Regions from separate parts of the Homo sapiens genome. Here all the other regions are linked to region 2. The links are contacts of gene promoters, found by promoter capture Hi-C in blood cells and fetal thymus (Javierre and others, 2016). All regions are on one chromosome and are shown on one strand. Each heading gives the region's core, a stretch centred on a gene start or on the middle of the fragment in contact. The rest is flanking DNA. Distances are from core to core; before and after follow the strand shown. Region 1 has its middle 26 kb from the start of VWA5A. Region 2 holds the start of TBRG1 (transforming growth factor beta regulator 1). Region 3 has its middle 30 kb from the start of OR10G7. Region 4 overlaps ZNF202 (zinc finger protein 202). Region 5 has its middle 13 kb from the start of OR10G7. Region 6 holds the start of EI24 (EI24 autophagy associated transmembrane protein).

Region 1 (2,700 bases), core at 88-2,587, 530 kb before region 2:
TATTCCCAGTGCACTTGACTTAGGCCTTTTGACTAGTATAGAGTGCAAGGCAATTATGTTTTGTAGAAACTGAAATTTTTAAACACCTTTGGATGATGTAAAGGTATAGATTGAAATAAAGTCCTGATTGAGATGGACGTTGGAATTCTTGATGTGATTTCCCAAGAACTCTGGGAAACGGATTCATTTTCTAATTCTGCAGCACCTAATTCAGAAATGTTTTCATAGCAAATGCTGTAGACTGCAGAGACCGAAAGCAGTGGTTTAGGACTTCGTCACGGTGTGAGTTTACTGTGCACTCTATAATCATATTGTGTACTTGTATAATGCTGAGATTGATGAGGTATAACTGCTCCTGGCTGAGGTATTTGGCAACACATACATACAGGAATGGTCAAGCCTTATATTCTAATATACAGTCTGAGGGGAGTGAATGATGTTTCCAGAGACTCTAATGTAAACTTATTCATTCCTATATTCTCATGAACAGCCCTGTGTTCAATGGTGAGATTTGGGTCCAGGGAACTTGCATCTCCTGTCTTGAAAAATGTTGGTGATCTCTCTATAATATATTCTGATCGTGTCTCTTCTTAAAACAAATAAATCCTGTTATTTGCTTGACTGCCGTTATTGCCTAGTATTTAATATTTAATATTTACAACTGGCAGGTACCAAGCAAGTGAAAGAGGACTTGTTTTTATCTGTTGGCTGATTTACAAAGGTTCCTAACCCCCCTCCCTCCCAGGCTTCCCATATGCCATTTCTTCCTCTGTCTATGCTTCCATTTTTCCAATGATGTAAGAGATTCTACTGTTATGAGACAGCCATATGGAATCACAGAATTAGTATTTCAGAGTTGGAAGGTAACTTAAAAGTCATCTAGTTTAGTGGAAGGATCTCCCTTTAATATTTTTTACATCTCCTTTCTTAAAAAGGGATATTCCTCCTCCGATGAGAGATAATATCCTAGTATAATCATCTTATCCCATGATTCCAGCTGACAGAGCAGAAAGATTGATATCACAATTAGTTACAGTGTCATTTGATATAAATAGAGGGAGAGATAAAGATCTTCTTTATAGTAGAAAACCAATGACCTAATGTGGTAAGAATAATTAATTTGGAAAGTTATTATTTGGCAATTATAATAATAATTCAGACAAGAATAATCTATGGATGCTAAAACTGGCAGATAAAATTGAGAAGTAATAGGATATGTACATAATTGCAAAGTTTCCATCCCTCCAAAAAATCATTATTAATTAGGAAGGTAAAATAATCACTTTATGGTTGAGTAGTCTGACAGACACTACCTTAACCAAATGATAAAAATTAACCTCACTAGTAATGGAACAAATTCACAGCAAGTACCTCCTGATATAATATACTAGAAAGAACACAGCATCATTTTGGAGTTGGTTCTGTCAAAAACACATTACCTGAATCTAATCAGGAGAAAACATTAGACAAACTCAAACTGATGTATGTTGTACAAAGTACCCATCTTAAAATATTCAAAAACAATAATGTCCTGGAATACAAAGGACTCAGGAACTATTCCAGTTTTTTAAAAAAAGATAAATAACATTATGCAATATATAATCCTGGACATTTTGTGCTATAAAAACATTATTAGAATAATTGGGAAAAGCTAAAGAATACCTGTAGATTAGATGATAGTATTGTATCCATATTCATTTCCTGGTTTTGATAACTATATTATAGTTATATAAGGGGACACCCTTTGTTTTAGGAAATAAACTTTAAGTAAGATATGGGGAAAAGGACCACATGATTGCAACTCGTTCAGAATAAAGTGTACACACACACACACACACACACACACAATATTGGGGGAAGGATTAGAGAGAGAATGAGAGAGAGAAGGGATAAAACAAATACAATATGCTGATAACATTGGGAATGTGAGTAACAAATATACATGGACTTTATGTTACCTTTTCAACTTTTCTGTAAGTCTGAAATTGTTTAAATCTTTAAAAGTCAATTTGATGAAACTTCTAGGAATGCTTTAACAGAACAGAAAAACTAGAAATTATTTCTTTTGTGTTAAATTTTTTATTTTTAAAATCTGTCAATGTTTTATATTAGAATAAATAAATATTCTGATTCAACAGATACATTCTTACAATAAAATATTTATTTTTATTTAGTATATTTATTGCTGTTACGACTTGTGCAAAGATTAATTAAACTTATGTTGCATCAAGGTTATCCATACATTTCTCACTTGGCATTATAAGTTTGTGAAGTAAAATGAGAACTGAACTGAAAATCGGAAGACCTGGATTCTACTTTTGGTTCTTCCATTAACTAAAGAAATTTCTGAATCCAGGTGCTTAGCCTGTAAACCTGAGCCGTGGATGAAAAGTGAAGCAACTGGGAGAGAAGAGCTGGAATGACATTTTAATACACATTAGAGGAAACTGTCAGGGAAAAATTCAAAGAGATTTTCTAAACCATTGTAACTTTACAAGTGATTATTATTTTTCAGTATTGCCATCTGTTTCTTTGTAGTGACAAGTGGCAACATGCTTAAAACAGAAGTGTGTATGTGTGTATGTGTGCATGTTAAAAGACAGAAGAGTGGAGGTTGTGAAACATATGGCTGTTTCAGCACTTGCCTGCCAAAAAGAGAAGGCCAGGAAAGAAAACATGGATATTGAAGACAGGAGTGAC
Region 2 (2,700 bases), core at 22-2,521:
AAAAGTCAAAGAACATGGAAATAATTATGCAAAATATAATATAGCCATAACTGGAATATTAACCAGCCACTTAAAATTATGCTTATAAGGAAGCTATACTAACATTTGTGAAACTGAAATGATACAATGGTAAATGAACAAAAAGAAAACTTTATTTTCAGTATTGTCTAACCTATACAAAAATGCATAAAATATTAGACACATATACTAACATGGTAAAAGTAGTTCATTCCAAGTGGTAGCATTATGGATTTTTAAACCTTTCTTGTACTATATTTTCTAAATTTCTAAAGTTCGAATGAAATGTTTTGTAAGTGTAAGGAAATGTGTCCAATGAAGAAGAAACAAAAAATATCTTCATGCAAATCCCACTAAAGTCCATTGGCCAAAACAGCCTGCAAACTAGGACAAAGGATAGCACTTTTCTTCCCCCTAGATGTGATACATGTATATGAAAATAAATAATACAAATAAAGTCAGACCCCAAAGCCCGCAAGGACAAAATACAGCAGAACAGCAAATTTTTTTTTTGAGAGAAAAAACTAGAGAGTTACTGAACTAGTTATTGGCATCGCTGGAAGAAGATGCAAGCAAGCCTTCTGCCATCCAGCCTGGGTCACTTACCAATACCGCACCCTAAAGATTTTTCTATCTTCCCTAATTTTAAATAGACCTTGGTTGTAAAGTTAGAACCATATACATGTACATATTATGTACAGAAATACACTTCTGGTTTCACTAGACAAACATTTACTGAGTGCCTACTTAGTGCTAGTATTAAAACTGCGTGTTAAATCTCTCATCTTCCCTACTAGAAAGAGCCAAGGCCTTTCTTCCTGTTCACTACTGTGTTCCCAGCTCCTGGGAAGATGATAGCATTAGGAGGCCCTGCAAACACATTTCTGTGAGCTGCAGAAAGGAACGAAGCAGGGAAAGAAGCAGAGTCCCAGCACTTGGGCTCACTTTGTCCTACAGTCTGGGAAAGCCTGTCTGCACGAAGCATGAAAAACGTATTAAAACGCAGTGGCCCAGCGGGGGAGCGTGAATGAGAGCTCGCATTGGTAAGCTTCTTGTTAGTTCGTTGGTTCAACTATAGTACCCTTCAGCTAAGCACACGGCCGCCGGCCCTCCCTCCTCTCCTCATCCAGCACTAGCCCCCAGCTGTCTCTTTCCTCCCGGTGCCCACGATCGCACCGCCCAGACCACCCTACTCTCCCTGCCCCGGAAGTTACACACTGCCGACACCGGGACGTAACTTCCGGGAAGGGCTTACTTCCAAGACAGACACGGAAGTGCTGGGAGGCGCCGGGAGCCCGTTCGGTTGCGGGTGTCTCTGGCCCTGCGGTCAGCCCTGGGAACGTCCCGGAGAGCTAGATTCCTAGAGGCCCGATTCCGCTAGCCCGGAACAGACAAAGCCAGCGCTCCCGCCCGCTCCCCGACTTAGGATCCGATGCCGGCAGCGTCCTGGGGCCCCCGTAGCGGGGCTGGACCATGAGCCTGCTGGACGGCCTCGCTTCCTCGCCGCGGGCTCCGCTGCAGTCCAGCAAGGCCAGGATGAAAAAGCTCCCGAAGAAGAGCCAGAATGAGAAGTACCGGCTGAAGTACCTGCGGCTGCGCAAAGCGGCCAAGGCCACGGTGTTTGTGAGTCTGACCCACGTTCAGCCGGTCCCCTCCTGGAGACTCCCTCACAAAATCTTTCCCCAAGCTGTTCCCCCTTCCCAGTGTGACAGTATTAATACAGTGTTGGCTTTTCCGTATACGTTACTACTTGTTAGCCTTGTGTCCTTGGACAAATTACGTAATTTCTCTGTGTCCTCATCTGTAAATGAGCTAGTAACTGTCTTGCAGAATAATGAATATTAAATGAGTAAAGAAAAGTGCTTGGTGCGTAAAAGACATACCAATAAATTTTAGTCATCGTTGTTACTGCAGGACTCTAGGAAATGTGTTTGATTCTCGAGATACAGCCCTGAGAATTAGGCATTATTTGTAAAATGAGAACACTGAAGCCCAGAGAGATGATTTGCCCAAGGGTACTGTGTCAGAGCCCTGACTCCAACTTAGATAAACCTGATTCCGTTTTATGACTTCCAGTACACAGACTATTTTCTGAGCACCTCAAATCCCCATAACTGACCCTTTGCCCAAAGAGGTACATGAAACTGTCAGTAATTTCCCCCCTCTAACCTTTGAGTGTTCCAAGTGTTTCTTCCTTTCTTTTATTGTAGAAGCACTGGATTTATTGAGTGAATAAACTTAATATAGCTTGCCAGCCATAACTTTATATTAGAATAGTTTGGCTTGCCTCAGTGCTTGGAAATAGGGGTGGAGTCCTCAAATGTCCCCCCACATCCAAGTCAACAGTTCATCTCTTCTCTCTACCAAAAGCTTGAACGTCTCTCAGCATTTTTGGAAGCATAAGGAAAGGTTCAGAAATTAGAATACACATTCCAAAAGCACTTATTCAGCACTTGCTATGTGTATTGCTTGCTATTTGCACTGGAGAGAAACAAGAAAAGTAAAACTAAGAGAACTTAGCATCTGATTGACTGTTCCCTTTCTTTTATCCCCTATACGTCAAAGGTACCTAAAGCTTGGAATTTATGTTATTTCAAGGATATTGGTTCCATCAAATACATAATGAAGATTTTGTGAAGAAAAAGCGATGTTGTTTTGAACATTGAGAGTTTGAAGTTCCAC
Region 3 (2,700 bases), core at 174-2,673, 550 kb before region 2:
TCATGGCAGCGTCTAAGGGTGGATGTTTACAGCTGAAGCTCCAGTGGGCGTGTGTTACAGTGCGCTCTTTCAGTTTAGCCGTCCGTTGGCAGCTTGTGTTAATCAGCTTAATTAGACCCTCTGCCTTATAGCAAGGGTGGAGGACTCTCTGTATCCCGGGGTTCTTGCCTTGGTGTACTAGAAGAATCAGATCACATATGGGCTTGGAGAATGAGTGCCAAATTTTATTGAATGGTGGAAATAGCTCTCAGCAGACGGATGGGGAGCCAGAAGGGGAGCGGGAAGGTGGTTTTCCCATGGAGTCAGCTCAGCGGCGTGACTCTCCTCTGACAGCTCCAGCTAAACTCCGCTTCATTCCACTGGTCAATGGCCTGCCGGCGTCTGCTGGTGCCGTTCGGTGTGCTCTTCAACCGAAGTGTTCCTCTTGATGTCTAGCCGCTTCTGTGTTCTCCTGCTGATGTGTTTCTCACGATGTCCAGCTGCTGTGTCCGTGCGCACTAGGGTCTCAGGGTTTTTATAGGCACAGGATGGGGACATGGTGGGCCAGGGTGGTCTTGGGAAATGCAACATTTGGACCTGAAAGCAGGAGTGCCTGTTCTCCCCTAGTTCCATGGGCACAGGTCCAGGGGTGGAGCCCTCCCCAGGGACCCGCCGTTCTCCTCCCAGCCCTTCCTTGCCCCCTCCCATATCAGTACTGTGCAGAAAAATTGAATTATGAAATTATAGTGAAAAGGTCATTACATGTTAGCCAGTTCACATTTTCTCCCAGTGGAGAACCCACTCTGCTTGGTCCCTCATGTCTATTTAGCTACCTTCCGTAGAGCAGAAATCTTACACCGCCAGCATAGTTTGTGTCACAGCTATCATATTCACACACCCTACTTCATGTTATGGAATAAAATGGAGCCCTAACCAAATTTGTTTAATTATACAAAAATAAAGTTTAGTTACTTTTTTGAGGTTCTTGCTCTGTCTCTCGGGCTAGAATGCAGAGATACAATCCTAGTTCACTGCAGCCTCAACCTTCTGGGCTCAATCGATCCTCTCACCTCAGCCTTCAAGTAGCTGAAACTACAGGCATGTGACACCATGCCCAGCTAAGTTTTATATTTTCTGTAGAGACAAGGTTTTACCATGTTGCCCAGGCTGGTCTCAAACTCCTGGGCTTGAGTGATCCTCCTGCCTTGGCCTCCCAACGTGCTTGGATCACAGGTGTGAGCCACCACACCTGGCCTAGTTCCATTTTTAAAACTGTTTACTTGCTGACATATCTATTTGCTGAAGGTTTTAGAATGCTCTTGTCAGAATAAAGTTTAAAAAAAGGCTGTAATTATTTTTAATAATTTTATTTTTGTAGGTTTTCACATTTTGAATGTTAATTCTTGTTTCAAGAGGATTTCTGATTATAAGTAGAATATCCTTTTGTGACTATGAGAGTGTGTGTGTGTGTGTGTGTGCGTGTGTGTGTGTGACTGTTCTCATGGTGGAGGCGTAGGAAAGTAATAGTAATAGTAGTGTTCTTTCATAGTGGCCTCAGATGAGGAAGTGGGAAAGACTATAAATATCTTTCCTGCTTATAGCATGTTAAAAAGCACTTATGTGTGAATCAGCAAAATACCGGGGTTCTAACAGTGGTTCCACTAATAATAGCCTGTGTGGTCCTGAATAAATTATTTTGTCTCTATGGCTTTAGTTCTAATATTTGTAAAATGAAGAGGTTGAACTAGATCATTTTAGAGGATTCTTTCACATCTACAAATTGTGTACCATTACAGGAATTTTCATTTACAGGAAGATGTTCATGACTTTGGGGAAAAAAAGTGTCTAGAGGTCTTCTAATTTCTGATTTTGGTAGGGCAATGATATTTCCATTTCCAGTAGTACTCTTGATTTTGAAATCCCGCTCTTGAAACAGGACTCCGAATTAAGGTGAAATACCTAACATCGGCCGGCAGATGGCACTATTGGGGCACCGACAACCAGATTCCTCTTCACTAACAAGTAGCTTGCAATAAAGACCCTGGAGCTGAATCAATAGGATAAAGAATGGTTGAAATTATTATTAGAACTGTGTTAGAGAGGTCTGTGATGCTTATGATTTCTGATGGCACCACCATGTGCTATAGTCTTTCTAGAGAGCCAGTTAAATAACCAGTCAATTGCTACCATTTTTACCAATTGGTGTCAGTAGACCCACGACTCTTTGTGTGTAAACAGCCATTGGGTTCACAAGGTGTTTCAGGTAAGAATGGAGAAAGTCTTGATGGAAATACAGCTGGCAAAGGTCACAGGACCCTGCCTGTGTTTACAGACTGCACAAGAACCACTTGGTGCTAAAAGCACGTGGCCGACAGATCGGCTTCAGCACGTACCTTCATCATTCCTCTTCTGAGCTAGCAGAGAAGGGAATTTGACTTCTTTTTTTTTCCTTCCATAGAGCGGGGCTTGAATTCCTTTGGCAGGGAGTCCCCAAAGTTAATTTTAACCCAGGAAATTGTGCATTAATAACGTGATACGAGTTTTGCTTTCAACAAAAGAAAACAGAATAAAAGGAATTTCCCAGCTACAGGATATTCTGACTATTCTGTGACATACAGTTTGATAAAACTTACACTAAATCTGACGGAAAGGTTTGTTTGTGATGGAGAAGGAAAGAGAGAAGTGCTTGTCCTTTTGTCTTATGTAGTCCCGCAGGAATAC
Region 4 (2,700 bases), core at 142-2,641, 890 kb before region 2:
TCTTCTTCCCAAAGATCCTGGTCCTCTGGTTCCACGGCTGTAGCCATTTCTTGGCTTTGGGGTGGTCTCACACCATCTAGAGCTCACACTGTCATTAGCCCCCCGCCTCAGCCTGGACACAGCGAGGATTTTCTTCCAAGGGCCCTGGATAGAGAAGTAAAGACAAACAAGAGTATAAGCATGAAACTATACACAAGGACAACAGCCTGAGTTCAATCATAATCCTCTACACAAACTTCTTCAAATGGTTAAATCCTCTTTTCCCCAACCACCATAGCCATAAATCAACAGATCCAGTTGGGAGAGGATAATTTACAACTAAAGGTATGGTCCTCTACTCCCTTTCCTAGGCAAGGTTCATACTCTGCAAGAAAATACTGCATTTCCACTTCACAAATACTGCCAATTCCCCCGCTTAAGTCTCCAAACCGGTTCCCTTCTCTTCCTTCCTACAGACTGCTTTAGTTTGAGCCTTCATCATCTCCTGCCTGGACTACTGCTCTAACTTCCTAAGATCCCTGCAGTACTCAACTATAAGCAAAGTACAACAGAATTACCTGTGGAGATTTTGCAAAACATAGTATCACACATCATTTTTCAGACACTCTGATTCAGTCAATTCAGGTAACTGTATGTTTAGAGATGCTACTTGCAGTTCGAATGTGTATCCATGGTTGAGAAACACCAACCATGAGGGAGATGTGTAAGGTTATGAGCGAAAGTTCTGGAGTCAAGCTGCCTGGGTTTGAATCCTGGCTCTGTCGCTTACTAGGTATTTCCAGAGTGGGACCATAGGCAAGTTCTCATTCTCCTAATGCCAGTTTCTCTGTCTATAGAAGGGAGATAATAATGGTTTTTATCTAATAGGCTTACTGTAAGGATTAAATGTATTACTAAAGCCTATGAGCATTAAATGTATTACTATCTTTGCTTAGAAGAGTGATGGCACCAGCTATTATCTTTCTAAATTATAGTTCCAACTATATTACTCAGTATTTTAAAACAAAACCTTTTTCATGTTAGTAAAATCAGTTCCAAAATCCTGGGAATGACACGAAGCTCTTTACAATCAGCCCCCAATCTATTTTTCAAGCTTCAGATCCTACCTTTTCCCTGTATCACCTGGTTATAAAAAATGCATTGCTGATCTCCCTACAACAGGGTGTCTTTTCAGTCTTCCATGTCTTTTTGAAGGTTGTTCCTTCTGCACAGGCTACTCTCCACCCTTCTCCTTTCCACGCTACATGGTGTGTTCTCTTTCTTTTTAACGGGTCTTGTCTTTATTCCCACAATTTACAGCTTAGGTCCCTCTCACTTCTCATCTGGATGACTGCAACTGCCTCCAAATGTGAGCTATCTGCCTCCAGATTTGTCACCTTCACGTACCCACTATGATCAGAACGAGCTCTCTTGGCAAACGTGCTCATGTCCCTTTCCTATCTAAGATCCTTCCATCACTCCCCGCTGTCTTGTTAAGTGAAATACAAACTTCAAACATTCTACATTAGGTTGACGTTCATCTTGTTATTCTCTTCGCCCTCCTCTCCAATCCTTTCAGACACACACGCACACACGTGTGTACATGCAAAGCACACAAGAGTCCCGTGTTCTTTAGCTTTTGAATATGCTGTTTCTTCTGATTCTTTATCCTTGGTTAGGTTAAACTTTAAATTTTTCAAGACATAAGCTCAAGCTTCATGTCTTCTGAGATGTTTTCTTTGATCCCATTTCCCCTACTCTCAGACATAGTTAGAAATCACCTAAGTCCTCCCGTAGTGACCTGGGCACCTCTCTATCCCAGTATTGGTCATATTACATAGCCATCGCTCATCTTTCCTGTGAAACTCTTTGAGGTCAGAGACTATTTTCCATCAATCTCCAATACCTATAATAAAGTGCACAATAAATGCATTTAAAATGAATAAAACTCTACTCCAAAGCTTCTTCCTATGGTAACAGGAAGAACCATTGTTTCCTCCATTATGCTTTTACTATCTCTTGATTATTCACCATATCCTGTTAATTCCAACTTCCAAAAAATGTCTTTCGAATCCATCCATCTCTTCATCTCTACTGCCATTTCCCGGTTGAGCCATTATGACCCACTAGAAGGTATTCATAGGAACTTTAAAAAAAATTACAATATCCTCTGCTCCTAAACGGCACTGGCACGTAACAGGCACGGATACATTGGAGAGATGACTTAGTTCAACCTCCATGACTGGTTTTCTTGGTCCTGTCCCCCTCCAGACCAGTGTCCACAAGCAGCTTAAGGGCTCCATCATTTCTCAACCTTTTTGTGCTATACTACAGTTGCCTCACATCCACATTCAAGGTTATCGATCCACTCTTAATAGCTGTGTCTCATCTATTGTTGCCCATCAAATGAGTTTACAGTCAATGATCACATTATCTTCATTCTTTCTCAAAACGCTTCTAATTCATGCTCTTATGACATTTTTTTCATTACCCTCAGTCACTTGCAACATACTTTCACAGTCTATCTTGGATAGCTCCCTAATTCCTAGATCTTCATGTGTAATTTTTCCTCTGCTATCTCTACCTCATGGTGATTTATTTTTTTCTCAAGTGGCTTGTAATTTTTTTATTTTATGTCCATCTTTTTACTTTGGGAGTCCTGAGAGCCCTGGATTTAAATGTGAGCCCCTTGAATGTAATTTCATTTGTTTCTTCCTAAGT
Region 5 (2,700 bases), core at 56-2,555, 570 kb before region 2:
ACAGCACCTAAAAGCAAAGGAAACAGGGCTGGGTGGACGTAGGGCCTGGTTTTCAGCCCAGGACAGCCACATTTCCCTTCAGTCTGTGAGTGCCTTTTCTCTGGAGTGCTCCCCTCTCATCTTCTGATGAGTTCTACGCACTAGAGGAAGGTGGGAAGAACGTGGGAATTGGCTCTGTTTGACTTTGGGCTAAATCTGACTTAGTTGACTCCATGGTATTTTATTGAGCTATTACCTGATTAATGAAGCTTAACCTTAGAAATTTTAGGAAATGAATAAGATGTAAAGTGATAATGGGGAATTATAAAGCTAATTCTAGGAAAAATGATGATTATTTGCAGTCAAGTCACAGATATAATTGCTATTGGACACTAAACTCTATTAAAAGAAATGGCTGTTTTTAATATCAGTAATTATCTATTGCTTTTTCCTACCTACATATCATCTTTTCTATTCTTTTATTTCTTTATTTTTATTTAAGTTATTTTTGGGACAGGGTCTCACTCTGTCACCCAGGCTGGAGTGCAGTGGCATGATTTTGGCTCACTGCAATCTCTGCCTTTTCAGCTTAAAGGATCTCCCCACCTCAGCCTCCCAAGTAGCTGGGACTACAGACATACACCACCACACTCAGCTAGTTTTTTCTTTTTCTTTTCCTTTTTTTTTAAATTTTTGAAGAGACAAGGCGTCACTGTATTGCCTAGGCTAGTCTCAAATCCCTGGGCTCAAGTGATCCTGCCACCTTGGCCTCCCAAGCTGCTGGGATTACAGGTGTGAGCCGCCATGCCCAGGCTTCCTTTCTGTTTTACACCCATTAGACAATTCTCAGTTTTCAGTTACTCTAGCTGCTGATTGAGAAAGCTGCCTCCCGGATCAGTCACATGAATGGGTAATCTCAGAACTGCTACAAGTCAACTTAGAGAAATGCTGTGGAATAAGGCACACATTAAATAATTTGATGAATAAATTTTTTAACAAAGATGGGTAGGAGCCAAAATTATATGGGTACTTTGCAGACATCAATGCATTAATGTACACAGGAACCATAATATATTATTTTACTATTTATATATATTCAGAAAAGATTTAAAGAGTTTTTTTCAAGGTCATCTGATGTCAGAGTGGGCAGCGTGTTTAGTATGTAAACTCAGATACTTCCAGTTGTAAAGTTTATTCTACACCTTCTCTTCTATATCAACTCTAGTGTTGTCTCTTCATTTTACTTATGAGGAAACAGATGAAAAATAGATTAATAACTTACCCAAATGTCACTCAATAATTAATGACAGGATTGAACTGAGTCTTATTTAGAAGTTCTCCACTCTATATACTTATTATCAGTTTGCGATAGGCTCTATAAAGAGTTTTTTGCAGGAAAAACTCATCTCAGTGAGGCCATTGTTTGATGTTCCAGGACTAATTTGACATGAAGATAAAGAATCACACTCCAGTAACTGAGGTCCCCCTGATGGGAATCCCTCATACAAAGGGGATGGAAAATGTGCTTTTTGTCTTATTTCTGGCCTTCTACCTCTTCACCTTGCTGGGGAACCTACTCATTCTTCTGGCCGTCCTCACTTTCTCCAACCTCCACACCCCCATGTATTTCTTCCTGGGAAACCTGTCTGTGTTTGACATATTTTTCCCTTCAGTGAGTTCCCCCAAAATGATGCTCTGCTTAGTGGGACAAAGCTGCACCATCTCTTTCCAGGGTTGTGCCTCCCAGCTCTTCTTTCACCATTTCCTGGGTTGCACCGAGTGTTTCCTGTACACTGTGATGGCCTATGACCGATTTGCAGCCATCTGCCACCCTTTGCCATACACGGTCATCATGAAACGCAGGGTGTGTGCCCTCCTGACGCTAGGCACCTGGACGGGGAGCTGTCTGCATGCATCTGTCCTCACACTCCTCATCTTTAAGTTATCCTACTGTGGCCCCAATGAAGTGGACAATTTTTTTCTGTGATATTCCGGTGGTGCTGCCCCTGGCCTGCGCAGACACCTCTCTAGCACGGACAGTGAGTTTCATCAACGTAGGTGTTGTTGCGCTCATGTGTTTTCTTCTTATCCTCACCTCTTATGCTTGCATTGTTATCTCTATACTGAAAATCAGTTCCTCAGAAGGTAGGCGCAGAGCCTTCTCAACCTGCAGTGCCCATCTGACGTCCATCCTGCTCTTCTATGGACCAATAGTCCTCATTTATCTCCGACCTGCCTCCAGCCCTTGGCTGGACTCTGTGGTTCAGGTGTTGAATAATATTGTTATCCCTTCCCTGAATCCTTTGATATATACTTTGAGAAACAAAGGTGTAAAGCTGGCACTGAGAAAGGTGCTCATTCAAGGAGTACATAATTGTGGAAGGTAAGCTTTATATCCTGGTCTGTCTTTACAGCTTTGTCTTGAATTTATCTGGGGGCAATTAGCTCCTATATTTTGTTTGATGACTGAGTACCAGGCGCTATTTACAAATACTGATACATGTAATGATTATAATAATCATATGAAGTAGATAATACTATTATCTCGATTTACGAGGGAAAATTAAGGCACTGAGAGGCTGAGATCTTTCTGCAGTGTCATGGAGTTAAAAACTTGCTGGGCGAAAATGTGACCCAAAGCGTCTTAACCATGTGCTAATGCTGCTTCTGTAGTGTCTAAATGGTAACATAAATACTTCTCTCAGGAGCTTCTTTTCGGTT
Region 6 (2,700 bases), core at 157-2,656, 950 kb after region 2:
TCAGGAGATCGAGACCATCCTGGCTAACACGGTGAAACCCCGTCTCTACTAAAAATACAAAAAAATTAGCCATGCTTGGTGGCAGGTGCCTGTAGTCCCAGCTACTCAGGAGGCTGAGGCAGGAGAATGGCGTGAACCCAGGGGGCGGAGCTTGCAGTGAGCCGAGATCGCACCACTGCACTCCAGCCTGGGAGACAAAGACAGACTCAGTCTCAAAAAAAAAAAAAAAAAAAGATTTCCTCCCATGAAGTAAGCCAGAATAAACTCATACCTACTAAATTCTTTCTAAAATCTTTTCTAAATTGACACTCTTGAGAAAGAATAGAGCTTGGAGGAAGAGCTATTATTATAATTAATAGCACAATAATCAGTTTGTCATTAAACCACTTAGGTCTCTTTGTAACAAGATTTCTAAGCTTTAGTAGATGGATTCCTTATTCTATTCTATTTTATATTGTTTTGTTTTGTTTTATTTTATTTTATTTTTCGAGACAGTCTAGCTGTGTCACCCAGGCTGAAGTGCAGTAGTGCGATCTCGGCTCACCGCAACCTCTGCCTCCTGAATTGAAGTGATTCTCATTCCTTAGCCGACCAAGTAGCTGGGACCACAGGTGTGTGCCACCATGCCCAGCTAATTTTTTGTATTTTTAGTAGAGACGGGATTTCACCATCTTGGCCAGGGTGGCCTCAAGTGATCTGCCCGCCTCAGCTTCCCAAAGTGCTGAGGTTACACGCATGAGCCACCGTGCCCAGCCACTTATTTTATTTCATTTTTTAAATTTATTATTATTATTATTATTTTGAGACTGAGTCTTGCTCAGTCGCCCAGGCAGGAGTGCAGTGGTGTGATCTCGGCTCACTGCAACCTTCATCCCCTGAGTTCAAGTAATTCTCCTGCCTCAGCCTCCTGAGTAGCTGGGACCACAGGCAGGTACCACCACACCTGGCTAATTTTTGTTATTTTAGTAGAGATGGGGTTTCGCTATGTTGGCCAGGCTGGTCTTGAACTCCTGACCTCGTGATCTGCCTGCCTTGGCCTCCCAAAATGCTGGGATTAAAGGCATCCTGTTACTAATTTCACAGGATTTTAGAAACGCAAGCAGCGTTGTGGAGTCAATGGGGGAGGGCAAAGAACAGGAGGAGAGATCTGTGAGAACGGGATCGGCGAGGAGGCGACGGGGAGGAGGCGACGCGGAGGGGTGAGGGGTCCTCTCCGCCGCCAGGCGGAGTTGGGAGCCGGACGATCCCGCACGCAGCGCGAGGCGGGACCCCGGACTGACTACATTTCCCAGTCTCCGTCGCTCCGCGCGGCCCACCCCTTCGGCTCTGGGCCCCGCCTCGTGGTGCCGGCTGGTTCTTCGCGCTCGCCCGACTTCCCAGCGGCCCCGTGCGGCCCGGGCATGCCCAGTGCGGGCGCAGCGGCCCCGGCCCTGGAAGCGCCCCGGCGGAGCTGGCCTGCGGTGGGCTAGGGGCAGGGCCGGAGCCGCGGCGGCGGAGCTGTGGGTAGGTGCGGGCTCAGCCGAGCTAGGCCTCGGGGCCGCCGCGCCGCCCATTCTGAGTGGCAGGGACCGGGAGGGCAGGCAGGGCCCGAGCGTGGGTTGGTGGGGCTACCGGCGAGGACCCCTTATGGGAAGGGGCCGGAGGGAGCGGGACGGGGCCGGGCACATCCCCGGGCGAGGCTGCCCCAGGTGCGGCGCAGCTATCTTTAGCTCCCTGTGTGACCCGGAGCGTGCGTGATCCGCACCTCGCGTGATCCGTACCTCGTGCACAGTTGTGCCTAGGGAGACCAGTTTTCTGCCGAATTGCCTAGGAGCTGTGGGGAGATGGGCCTGAATGGACCCGTGGACTCAGAGGCAGCCCGTGGAGCCCCGTGGGAAGTGAGGATGTTTACCTTCCCTGTACCTGGAGTGGGCTACGACAGCTTCCTGTTTGCCGAGACTTGGGTTTAGTGACTTAGAAATAAAAGTGTGTCTCAGCAGATGCTTATTAGCTTCTAATGACTGTTGGGAATTTAATGGCATTTGTATTTCCAGGTTTGAGAGGTTATTTGTCCATGGGATGCTCGTGTTAAAACAAAAATCTTCATTGCAAAGCTTAAGTAAAAACAAGTCTCGACCGAGGTAACGTTAGAACACCGGGTTCTGAGGTTCACTGTAGCTGCCATTCATTTGCTGTCAGTCTGGGCAAGTCATTTAACTTCTGAGACTGGGTTCTCTCACCTGTTAAATGAGCCAGATGCATCTTCATCTGTCTAGCTCAGCTGTAGGATTCCCCCTGTGTCATTCAGTCTGTGTGTGTGTTCTCAAATTGTGGCAGGTTATTTTTCCCCATGCCTCAGCTATTTGTCAGACTGGGTAATTCACCAAATATTCCTGTAGGAAGGATGTTAGGATCTAAGTATAAAAGTGAAGTGATTTATCCTTCATAGGTCACTCTTAGGAGGTGTCCTGCCACTTGGTACATGCAGAAACCAGGTGTTAGCTGGCCAGGGATCAAATGACACAGCTGTTGTGGACTGAGACAGAATGTTTCAGGTTCCCTGTCAGTTCCCTGTGAGAAATCCAGGCCAAGTAATGGGCTTCCTTAAACCTCCAAGCTGGCTCACTTTGGTGGGGTTGTGTTTATATAGAATTTTAAGTTTTTTTCATGCTGTTGTGCCCTATTAGATGCAAGAAACCTATGAAGAAGTTTAGTACCCTT

What was found. Contacts are between HindIII fragments. The CHiCAGO score rates a contact against its expected background, and 5 or more counts as called.
Region 1: a fragment that was not itself captured here is called in contact with the fragment with the promoter of TBRG1 in region 2 in 2 of 17 cell types (total B cells and erythroblasts); the score reaches 6.2 in total B cells.
Region 3: a contact is called between a fragment that was not itself captured here and the fragment with the promoter of TBRG1 in region 2, in 5 of 17 cell types (erythroblasts, megakaryocytes, total B cells and 2 more). The highest score is 14.6, in erythroblasts.
Region 4: a fragment that was not itself captured here is called in contact with the fragment with the promoter of TBRG1 in region 2 in 1 of 17 cell types (total B cells); the score reaches 5.8 in total B cells.
Region 5: a contact is called between a fragment that was not itself captured here and the fragment with the promoter of TBRG1 in region 2, in 3 of 17 cell types (naive B cells, megakaryocytes and total B cells). The highest score is 6.5, in naive B cells.
Region 6: the fragment with the promoter of EI24 here is called in contact with the fragment with the promoter of TBRG1 in region 2 in 8 of 17 cell types (naive CD4 T cells, total CD8 T cells, activated CD4 T cells and 5 more); the score reaches 9.4 in naive CD4 T cells.

What each region holds. Positions count from the first base shown.
Region 1 is chr11:124,088,583-124,091,282 of GRCh38, forward strand. No RefSeq gene overlaps it. Among named protein-coding and RNA genes, the nearest start is that of VWA5A, 26 kb to the right of the region's middle. The HindIII fragment of the contact is 7,316 bases long and covers 1-2,700 here.
Region 2 is chr11:124,621,593-124,624,292 of GRCh38, forward strand. TBRG1 (transforming growth factor beta regulator 1) reads left to right here and starts at 1,272. Exons shown (of 9, transcript NM_032811.3): 1 at 1,272-1,641. The coding sequence starts at 1,492. LOC124902779 (a long non-coding RNA gene) reads right to left here and starts at 1,609. Exons shown (of 2, transcript XR_007062932.1): 1 at 1-1,609. RefSeq lists an enhancer at 1,349-1,418. The HindIII fragment of the contact is 1,322 bases long and covers 1,065-2,386 here.
Region 3 is chr11:124,069,581-124,072,280 of GRCh38, forward strand. No RefSeq gene overlaps it. Among named protein-coding and RNA genes, the nearest start is that of OR10G7, 30 kb to the left of the region's middle. The HindIII fragment of the contact is 5,328 bases long and covers 1-2,700 here.
Region 4 is chr11:123,730,842-123,733,541 of GRCh38, forward strand. ZNF202 (zinc finger protein 202) reads right to left here. Exons shown (of 9, transcript NM_003455.4): 4 at 1-144. The coding sequence starts at 47. Among named protein-coding and RNA genes, the nearest start is that of ZNF202, 9.5 kb to the right of the region's middle. The HindIII fragment of the contact is 600 bases long and covers 1,092-1,691 here.
Region 5 is chr11:124,053,367-124,056,066 of GRCh38, forward strand. It overlaps the pseudogene OR10D5P. Among named protein-coding and RNA genes, the nearest start is that of OR10G7, 13 kb to the left of the region's middle. The HindIII fragment of the contact is 2,119 bases long and covers 247-2,365 here.
Region 6 is chr11:125,568,071-125,570,770 of GRCh38, forward strand. EI24 (EI24 autophagy associated transmembrane protein) reads left to right here and starts at 1,407. Exons shown (of 11, transcript NM_004879.5): 1 at 1,407-1,503. It overlaps STT3A-AS1 (STT3A antisense RNA 1), which reads right to left. Exons shown (of 4, transcript NR_132372.1): 3 at 2,220-2,372; 4 at 38-48. RefSeq lists enhancers at 1,071-1,572, 2,075-2,124 and a silencer at 1,075-1,634. The HindIII fragment of the contact is 1,677 bases long and covers 415-2,091 here.